Linked DNA regions of Homo sapiens: region 2 is linked to region 1. Evidence: promoter capture Hi-C in 16 types of primary human blood cells and fetal thymus (Javierre and others, 2016). All regions are on one chromosome and are shown on one strand. Each heading gives the region's core, a stretch centred on a gene start or on the middle of the fragment in contact. The rest is flanking DNA. Distances are from core to core; before and after follow the strand shown.

Region 1 (3,904 bases), core at 875-3,374:
TTTACCTTAACTATTATAGCATTTATTGCAATTGTTACAATTATTTATTGTCCATCTCTAGGATTATTAAGCACCACAAAGCCAAGAACTATGTCACCACTGTACTCAGCATTTGGCTAAGTATATGACACAGAAGAATCCAACAAATATTCTTTGAATGAAAGAAAGAATGCATAAACTAATGCATCTAGAGGCTTTATGCCTCTAGACTATTGTACTGTGAAACCTTTCACAATTTTCTAAGAAACAGGGTTCAAGACAGGCAACCTATATTACACAGCTGTTAGAAAAAGTTACTGGAAATCGGCCGGGTGCGGTGGCTCACGCCTGTAATCCCAGCACTTTGGGAGGCCGAAGCGGGCGGATCACAAGGTCAGGAGTTCAAGACCAGCCTGGCCAATATGGTGAAACCCCATCTCTACTAAATATACCAAAAAAATTAGCCGGGCGTGGTGGCGGGCCCCTGTTGTCCCAGCTACTCGGGAGGCTGAGGTAGGAGAATCGCTTGAACCCGGGAGGCAGAGGTTGCAATGAGCCAAGATTGTGCCACTGCACCCCAGCCTGGGCGACAGAGCAAGACTCCATCTAAGAAAAAAAAAAAAAAGTTACTGGAAATCATTCGAGTTGAAGGACTCTGTAAGCTTAAAAAAAATCTTTTTTAAGAGACAAGGTTTTGTTTTTAAGAGATGAAGTCTCGCTATATTGCCCAAGCTGGTCTCAAACTCCTGGACTCAAGCGATCCTCCTGCCCTGCCCTCCCAAAGTGCTGGGATTACAGGCATGAGCCACCACGCCCAGCCTAAAAAAATTTGTTTTAGGCATTTCCACCCCTAGCTCTCTCCAGAAGTCTGTTATCACCAGTGAAGAGAAAATCCCATGCTCCCTTGCTGAGGAAGTGACCCACTGGTAGCCCAGTCCTTGCATTCAAGATGAAGGAAGTGACTGTCCACAGACGGAAAGCCAGGAAGCAGGGGGCAGATAGCCAGCCCCCCTCCACCTCAATACCCTCTTGCCGCCTCTCCAAAGCTTCTGGACGCTGACCCTGGTGGACCCAGAGGTGGGCCACCCACACAGGTGGCTGGGAAACATAGGAGACAGAAGGTTCCTACTGCTGGGGGAAAAGATGGGGAAGGCAGGAAGCTGCAGGGTGGTGTGTGAGGTGGCGGGGAGGTGACTGCAGGTGCAACTAACCCAACTCTGAAGCTACCCTTCACCCTTAGACAACTCTTCCTTCCAGGAGGTGTTTGGCCGAATCCCTCTAGTCTTTAGTCTAGAGAGGCCAAGGGAGCTTCCACAGGAGGACTCAGAACCCCAGGTGGCCTACTTTCGCCACCTGTAGCAGAGATCTTTGGGCCCCAAAAAGAATGGTCCGATCTCTCCTTACCCTTAGTCCTGTCCTAAACCTCAAGGGGCTCCATACTCCCTTATTTTCTGCAAAGAGCTCCCAGCCCCGGGGGACTCCCAGACACCAAGATGCCCGCGAGAAGCCTTGGGTCTTGGCAGGGAAGTCACATCCTCCATTTCCCTCAGAAAACCCAGAACCCGGGGTAACTCTCCTAATTGTCCTGAACCCTAGAGGATCCTGTACTCCTCAAATTCCACAGAGCTTCCACTATAAGAGAACCCCATGCTTTTCAACTTCCTTAAAAAGGGTTAATTTGGGGGTCTGCGGCCGCCAGGTCCCTCCAAAAAGCTGGATTCCTGGCAGACCCAGAATCTCTTCCTCCCCGGGACCTCAACTCGCGGGAAGCCTCCCAACCCGCCTGCCCCTCGGAGCCCTCTGTCTCCAGGATGCCCTGCCTCCCCATTCCCGGAGTCCCACCCTCCAAATGCCTGGGGAGCGCTGTGCCCACCCCGCCTCCCAGCTTTTCTGAGGAGCTCGGACCCACGAGGACCCAACCAGCCCGAAACCCCCGAGAGACAGCCGGTTTCCCTCAGGCGCCATGGAACCGGACTTCGGAGATAACAGCGGGACAGGGCGGAGCAGCCCTTCCTTACCCGCCAGCGCGGACATGGTCCCGGGAGCGCGGAAATGGGGAGGAGGAGGCGGGGGACACAGCAGCTCCCCTCAGTTCCCTACAACTCCCCTCAGCTCCTGCCGCCGCCGCCTCAGGCGCGGGAAGACCACAGCCCCAGGCGCGAACGGGATGCACCGCCTACGGCGCCCTGGGAGGACCAAACCACACCTGGCACAGGGGACTGCCCGCCGACGCCCCGCCCCGCCGCTCTCAGGCCTCGCTCCCGAGACGCGGCCCCGCCCCCTGGCTCTGGCTCGGGCTCTGCAGCGGCCCTGGCGCCCCCTAGTGCGAGCGGCGTCCCCTCGAGGTGCTCCCGCCGGTAAGGTTGATTCTGCGGGGGCCGGAAGTCTCAACACGGATGACAGTCCGCACCCATCTAGTCGCCCTCATTTACAGATAGGGAAAGTTAAGGATCAGAGGCTAAGTTCGACTACATTGAAATGGCTTCGCTCATTAGGAGGAGAGCCGGGATGGGAGCCCAGGCCTGCTAACTGCCAGTTCAGAGCTCTTTCCAGTAGTGTTTGGAATCAGGAATATTACAATGGAGGAGCCAGGTCTATCCCACAAACAGCTTTGAGGATGGACTTTTCTTAGAAGCTTCTAGCTCAGAGAAACCACTTCTCTGCGCCACTATGAGTAAGCTGACAGTAAATAATCTCTAAGTCAAAGACAGTTGGAGGCGACCAACCAGCATTCCAGGAGCAGATCCTCAGCCAGGCCAATTAGGTTTAGCGCAGGACGCTGGAGCTTGTGCGCCGCATTGGAAGACGAGCACTCCCCTGCAGGAACATGGGCCTACCATTCCCAGGTCTTCCAACCTTTCAAAACATGCCAAAAATCCAGATATTTAGGTGAAATTTGCCACTTTTAAAAAATGTTGATAGCATCAAAAAGTTCTTAAAATGCCATGTAGACCAAATGAAACACACCTGGCCACTAGATTTGCCCTGTGGGCTGCCAGTTTACAATCTTCTATGAGGAGGAGGGATTACAGGACTAAGAGTTAGGACAGCTGACTGGGTTATGGCAGCTGCTAGCTGGCTGAGTAGCTTTGAGAACCACTTCCGCTCATTAGGTTTGGAAGGAGATTGGGGTCCTCTGTGTGATTAAGATATTAATACATCATCAGCCAGGCCAGCTGGTCCCTGATGACCCACCCTCCCATCAGATTCTCTCACGCTGGGTCTTTCACAATTGTCATTTCCTTACATCAGATTTAGATCACAGGAAACATGTCCAAATGACCAGAAAGAGGATGGAGCCCAGGGAAATGGATTCTGTCCCCTCCACCCCCACCCCTGACCAAAGACAAAGTTCAACCCAGCTGCCTCTGGTCCCAGCAGTTGGGTAAGCAAAGGCAAAGGCAAAGACAAAGGCGAGCACAATTCTCTTCCTTCCTGCTCTAATTCAAACCGGATGCCGGTCAGATTTTTCTCTTCTGGGTGTGGCAGGTGGCTCACGATGTCCTGAGTGTGCACAAAGTGCTGGGGAGGAGGGCTCTGTCCCATTTCCGTTAATTCCTGGGAACTCTTTTCAGTACTCAGTTTTGTAGTTTCTGAGGAAATCATTATAGTAAACACAAGATTGTGTATTGAATTAAAGTGACAGGAATCCAGAGACTCTCCTGACAAGCTGCCTCATGGCTAGCAAACAGGGGACAGGGACTTTCCCCATCCTTCCTACAGAAAGATGTAACACTGTATTTTCCCAGGCAACAAAGCACTGGCATCCTGGGAACCAAAACCTCCTGGGTGTCTTCCCTCTCCCTCCGTTCCACACCAAGGCACCCAGGTCTATCTCTTCTCCCTCCTCATTCTCTCTCACATTCCACTTCCTCCTACCTCCAGCCTCATGGTCTTCACCAGCAGGGAGCTGGGGAATAGCCAA
Region 2 (3,904 bases), core at 1,006-3,505, 1.7 Mb after region 1:
ATGTTATTCTCATCACCACCAAAGTCCTGTCTTATCCCATAATTTGAGGGATCTGGTGCTCTTCATGGGCCCTTCCACGAGGGCAATGGGACATTCCTGTCGCAGCATCTGGGGCCTCCTCCTGCCCACTCAAAGGCCAGCATGTGTGGGTGGGGCCAGGGGAGGTTGTTGGCTTGCTTGAGCCCCCTGTGTGACCTCTGCCTTCTCTCTCCGCAGTCCCCCTGGTGCGACACATGGAGTCTAGGATCATGATCCCCTTGAAGATCTCGCCTCTGCAGTGATGCTGCCTACACCTCCACCTCCTTCCCCTTCTCCCTCAGGCAACCCCGACAGACAGTGGCACTCCTGGTCCTGCTGTCTTGGTTTTGTCTTGGCTCTGGGAGGACTCTGAGGGGCAGTGCTCAGTTCAGACAAGGGGGAACTGAAGGCTGACAAGTTCTGAGGATTACAGCTCTGCCCAGGCCCTTTCTACTTTCCCTGCCTGCCTCCCTCCCCCTGCTAGAAGTAGTTTCTGATTTCCCTGAATGAAAGATAGTGATCTTTTAGGCCTTCATTTATCTTCTAAAATTCCTCATCTCAAGGCCACCAGTCCCCAGTTATCACCCTTGGAAATCCTCTGTTTAGCTTAGTTGCACAAAAGGTAGTATGTCCAGTGGCTAGAGGTGGGGTGGGAAGAGAGGAGGCCAGGCCAGGCCCTCAGGAATTCCCTGGTTTCCACTGGGCCACCCACTTGCTGGACAGTCTGAGCCAAGTCCCTCCTGCTGGAGAAAAGCCTGGAACTGCCAAAACAAAAAAACAAATACAAACAAACCTCGTCACCACGGTCAGGAGGAGGTTCAGACATTCTGCCCAGAGGGGCTGGGGAAAGGGATGGGAGCCAGGAAAGATTTAGGGGCAGGAGACAGACACGTAACAGGAACTCGGAAGGTAGAACTTAGAATTCAGAACTTGGGTTTCAATTGTAGAATTTGGAATCTGGAATACAGAATTGGGAAGAAGAACAGAGATGACAAAAGACCACTTGAAGAGAGGTTCCTAATACTAGACAGATGGAGAGTGGCTTGGCTGTTTCCCCCTGCATATTGGGGTTGAAAACTTAAATGTGTAGTTCCAGTCCTTCTATGCAGAGTCTCTCCTGCCCTCCCTCCTTCCTGCAGGCAAATATACAAGCTAGACCCTGTTCCCTCACCCTGTATCCTGTCTCCCCTAATTGACATTCTATCAGCCCAACCCTCATTCTGCAGGGCCACCTGGTGTGTGGAGGTGGCGGGAGGGGTCAGTGACTCTGGGGGTCTCCTCAGTGACCCCCATACCTCATCATGAACCCTTGGGTAGCTTGATTCTGCCTACCATCCAGGAAAACTTGTGCTGGAATTGCTGATGGAAACAATTAAATATTTACTATAAATCAGTGTCTTTTCTTCATCTGCAAGGAACTTTAGCAGGTGCCTGAGGCAGGGCACAGTAGAGCTGGTGGGCTTAGTCCCACATGGCAGATCTACCCTCCTGGAGGGTACTGTGTTCTTGAGCTATTCTCAACAGTCAGTACTGGTTGGGTGCAGTGGCTCACGCCTGTAATCCCAGCATTTTGGAAGTCCGAGGTGGGCAGATCACTTGAGTGAGGTCAGGAGTTCAAGACCAGCCTGGGCAACATGGTGAAACCCTGTCTCTACTAAAAATACAAAAATTAGCTGGGCATGGTGGTGCATGCCTGTAATCCCAGCTACTTAGGAGGCTGAGGCAGGAGAATCCTTTAAACCCTGGAGTCGGAGTTTGCAGTGAGCGGGGATTGCGCCACTGCACTTCAGCCTGGGTGAGAGAGCAAAACTCTGTCTCAAATAAAAATAAAAATAAAAAAGAGCCAGTATTTTCCTCCTTGCTCCTGGGAAGGAGAAGGAACTGGCCCCGTACAACCAGGGATTCAGGACACGTGTTACTAGCTCCAGATGAGGATTTACACGAAAAAATCCTGGGCCTTGTTTGTACAGTTCATGCCAGGGGTAGGAAATACCTGAAGCTTTCAAATACTGCGTTAGAGTTGTGACTCTGTCCTGGGCAAGTCAGGCCTAAAATGGAGAAACTGGTGATGCACTCCTCAAAAAGCCAAGTGTAAAATGAGGTTAATGCCCTCCCTGACTTGTTGCCTTCACTGGCGTGGCATATTATGGTAAAAATAATAATTAAGAAGTAAGGTTATGCAGGCAAATCCTCTAGCGCCGAAATCTTCCCCGCCGCGCTACCAGGTTCTTTCGTGTTATCTTGGACATAACACAACATTAATTCAACTACTCGGTGGAGCGCCCACTAGCTGCTGGACACTCTCTTAGGCCCTGGGCACAGTGAACGAGAAGCATGTGTCTTTGTTTTTACAGTCTCACCACGCCACCACCTCCCTCGGGGGCCTCCGCGCTGAGCTTCCGGCCTCTACGCCTCGCTTCCGGTCGGCCGCCCCTTCCTTACTTCCGGTTCTCTATGGTGCGCGGGCAAGCTTTGCTCCGCCTCCGGCAGTGGCTTACTCCCGGTGCCAGGTTCTTGGAGCTGTGAGGTGAGGAGGGGACAAGGGCAGTGGGGCTGGGAGATGGGGCGGGGCTGGGCGCTCCGGGACTGAGGTGCTGATCGCCCAAAGGGCGCCCCTGGGCTGGGGTCTGACCCGGCTTCTCCTCCCTCACTACCCGCGGTCCCCGGCCTCTCGGCGCTGCGCTGTTACCTCATCCGAAAAGTGTTCGCTGCAGCATCCTCAGGCTTCACGTTGGAGCCTCTTGATTGTGGTAATGTAGCCTGATGGGGGTGGGGGTGGTGGTGATGGTAACAGCTCACATATATCGTGCTCTTCGGTGTGCCAGGCACTCTACTGTGTTGCCAAAGTCAGGATTTCCCACACTTAAGCCTTTCAGGTCCGGTCTTTGTAGGCTTTGCCAGATCAACTTACCACCTCTACTACCGTTTATTAAAAATTTGTTTGTTTGTTTGTTTTAGTATTTATTGATAATTCTTGGGTGTTTCTCGCAGAGGGGATTTGGCAGGGTCATAGGACAATAGTGGAGGGAAGGTCAGCAGATAAACAAGTGAACAAAGGTCTCTGGTTTTCCTAGGCAGAGGACCCTGCAGCCTTCCGCAGTGTTTGTGTCCCTGGGTACTTGAGATTAGGGAGTGGTGATGACTCTTAAGGAGCATGCTGCCTTCAAGCTTCTGTTTAACAAAGCACATCTTGCCCCGCCCTTAATCCATTTAACCCTGAGTGGACACAGCACATGTTTCAGAGAGCACGGGGTTGGGGGTAAGGCTATAGACCAACAGCATCCCAAGGCAGAAGAATTTCTCTCAGTACAGAACAAAATGGAGTCTCCCTTGTCCACCTCTCTCCACACAGACACAGCAACAATCCGATTTCTCTATCTTTTCCCCACATTTCCCCCCTCTCTACTAGACAAAACCGCCATCGTCATCATGGCCCGTTCTCAATGAGCTGTTGGGTACACCTCCCAGACGGGGTGGCGGCCAGGCAGAGGGGCTCCTCACCTCCCAGAAGGGGCGGCCGGGCAGAGGCGCCCCCCACCTCCCGGACGGGGTGGCGGCCAGGCGGAGGCGCCCCCCTACCCCCGACCCGACGGGGCGGCTGGCCGGGCTGGGGCTGGCCCCCACCTCCCCCCCGGACGGGGCGGCTGGCCGGGCGGGGGCTGCCCCCCACCTCCCGGACGGGGCGGCTGCTGGGTGGAGGGGCTCCTCACCTCTCAGACGGGGCAGCCGGGCAGAGACGCTCCTCACCTCCCAGACGGGGTCGCAGCCGGGCAGAGGTGCTCCTCACATCCCAGACGGGGCGGCGGGGCAGAGGTGCTCCCCACATCTGAGATGATGGGCGGCCGGGCAGAGACACTCCTCACTTCCTAGACGGGATGGGGTCCGG

What was found. Contacts are between HindIII fragments. The CHiCAGO score rates a contact against its expected background, and 5 or more counts as called.
Region 2: a contact is called between a fragment that was not itself captured here and the fragment with the promoter of LIMK2 in region 1, in 1 of 17 cell types (fetal thymus). The highest score is 5.6, in fetal thymus.

Annotation. Positions count from the first base shown.
Region 1 is chr22:31,210,518-31,214,421 of GRCh38, reverse strand. LIMK2 (LIM domain kinase 2) reads right to left here and starts at 2,124. Exons shown (of 16, transcript NM_005569.4): 1 at 1,998-2,124. The coding sequence starts at 2,013. RefSeq lists enhancers at 516-1,441, 2,404-2,583 and a silencer at 2,024-2,423. The HindIII fragment of the contact is 1,589 bases long and covers 1,028-2,616 here.
Region 2 is chr22:29,552,312-29,556,215 of GRCh38, reverse strand. THOC5 (THO complex subunit 5) reads left to right here and starts at 2,459. Exons shown (of 20, transcript NM_003678.5): 1 at 2,459-2,545. NIPSNAP1 (nipsnap homolog 1) reads left to right here. Exons shown (of 10, transcript NM_003634.4): 10 at 217-1,408. The coding sequence ends at 281. RefSeq lists enhancers at 2,089-2,158, 1,542-2,239, 3,637-3,904 and a silencer at 2,559-2,748. The HindIII fragment of the contact is 471 bases long and covers 2,020-2,490 here.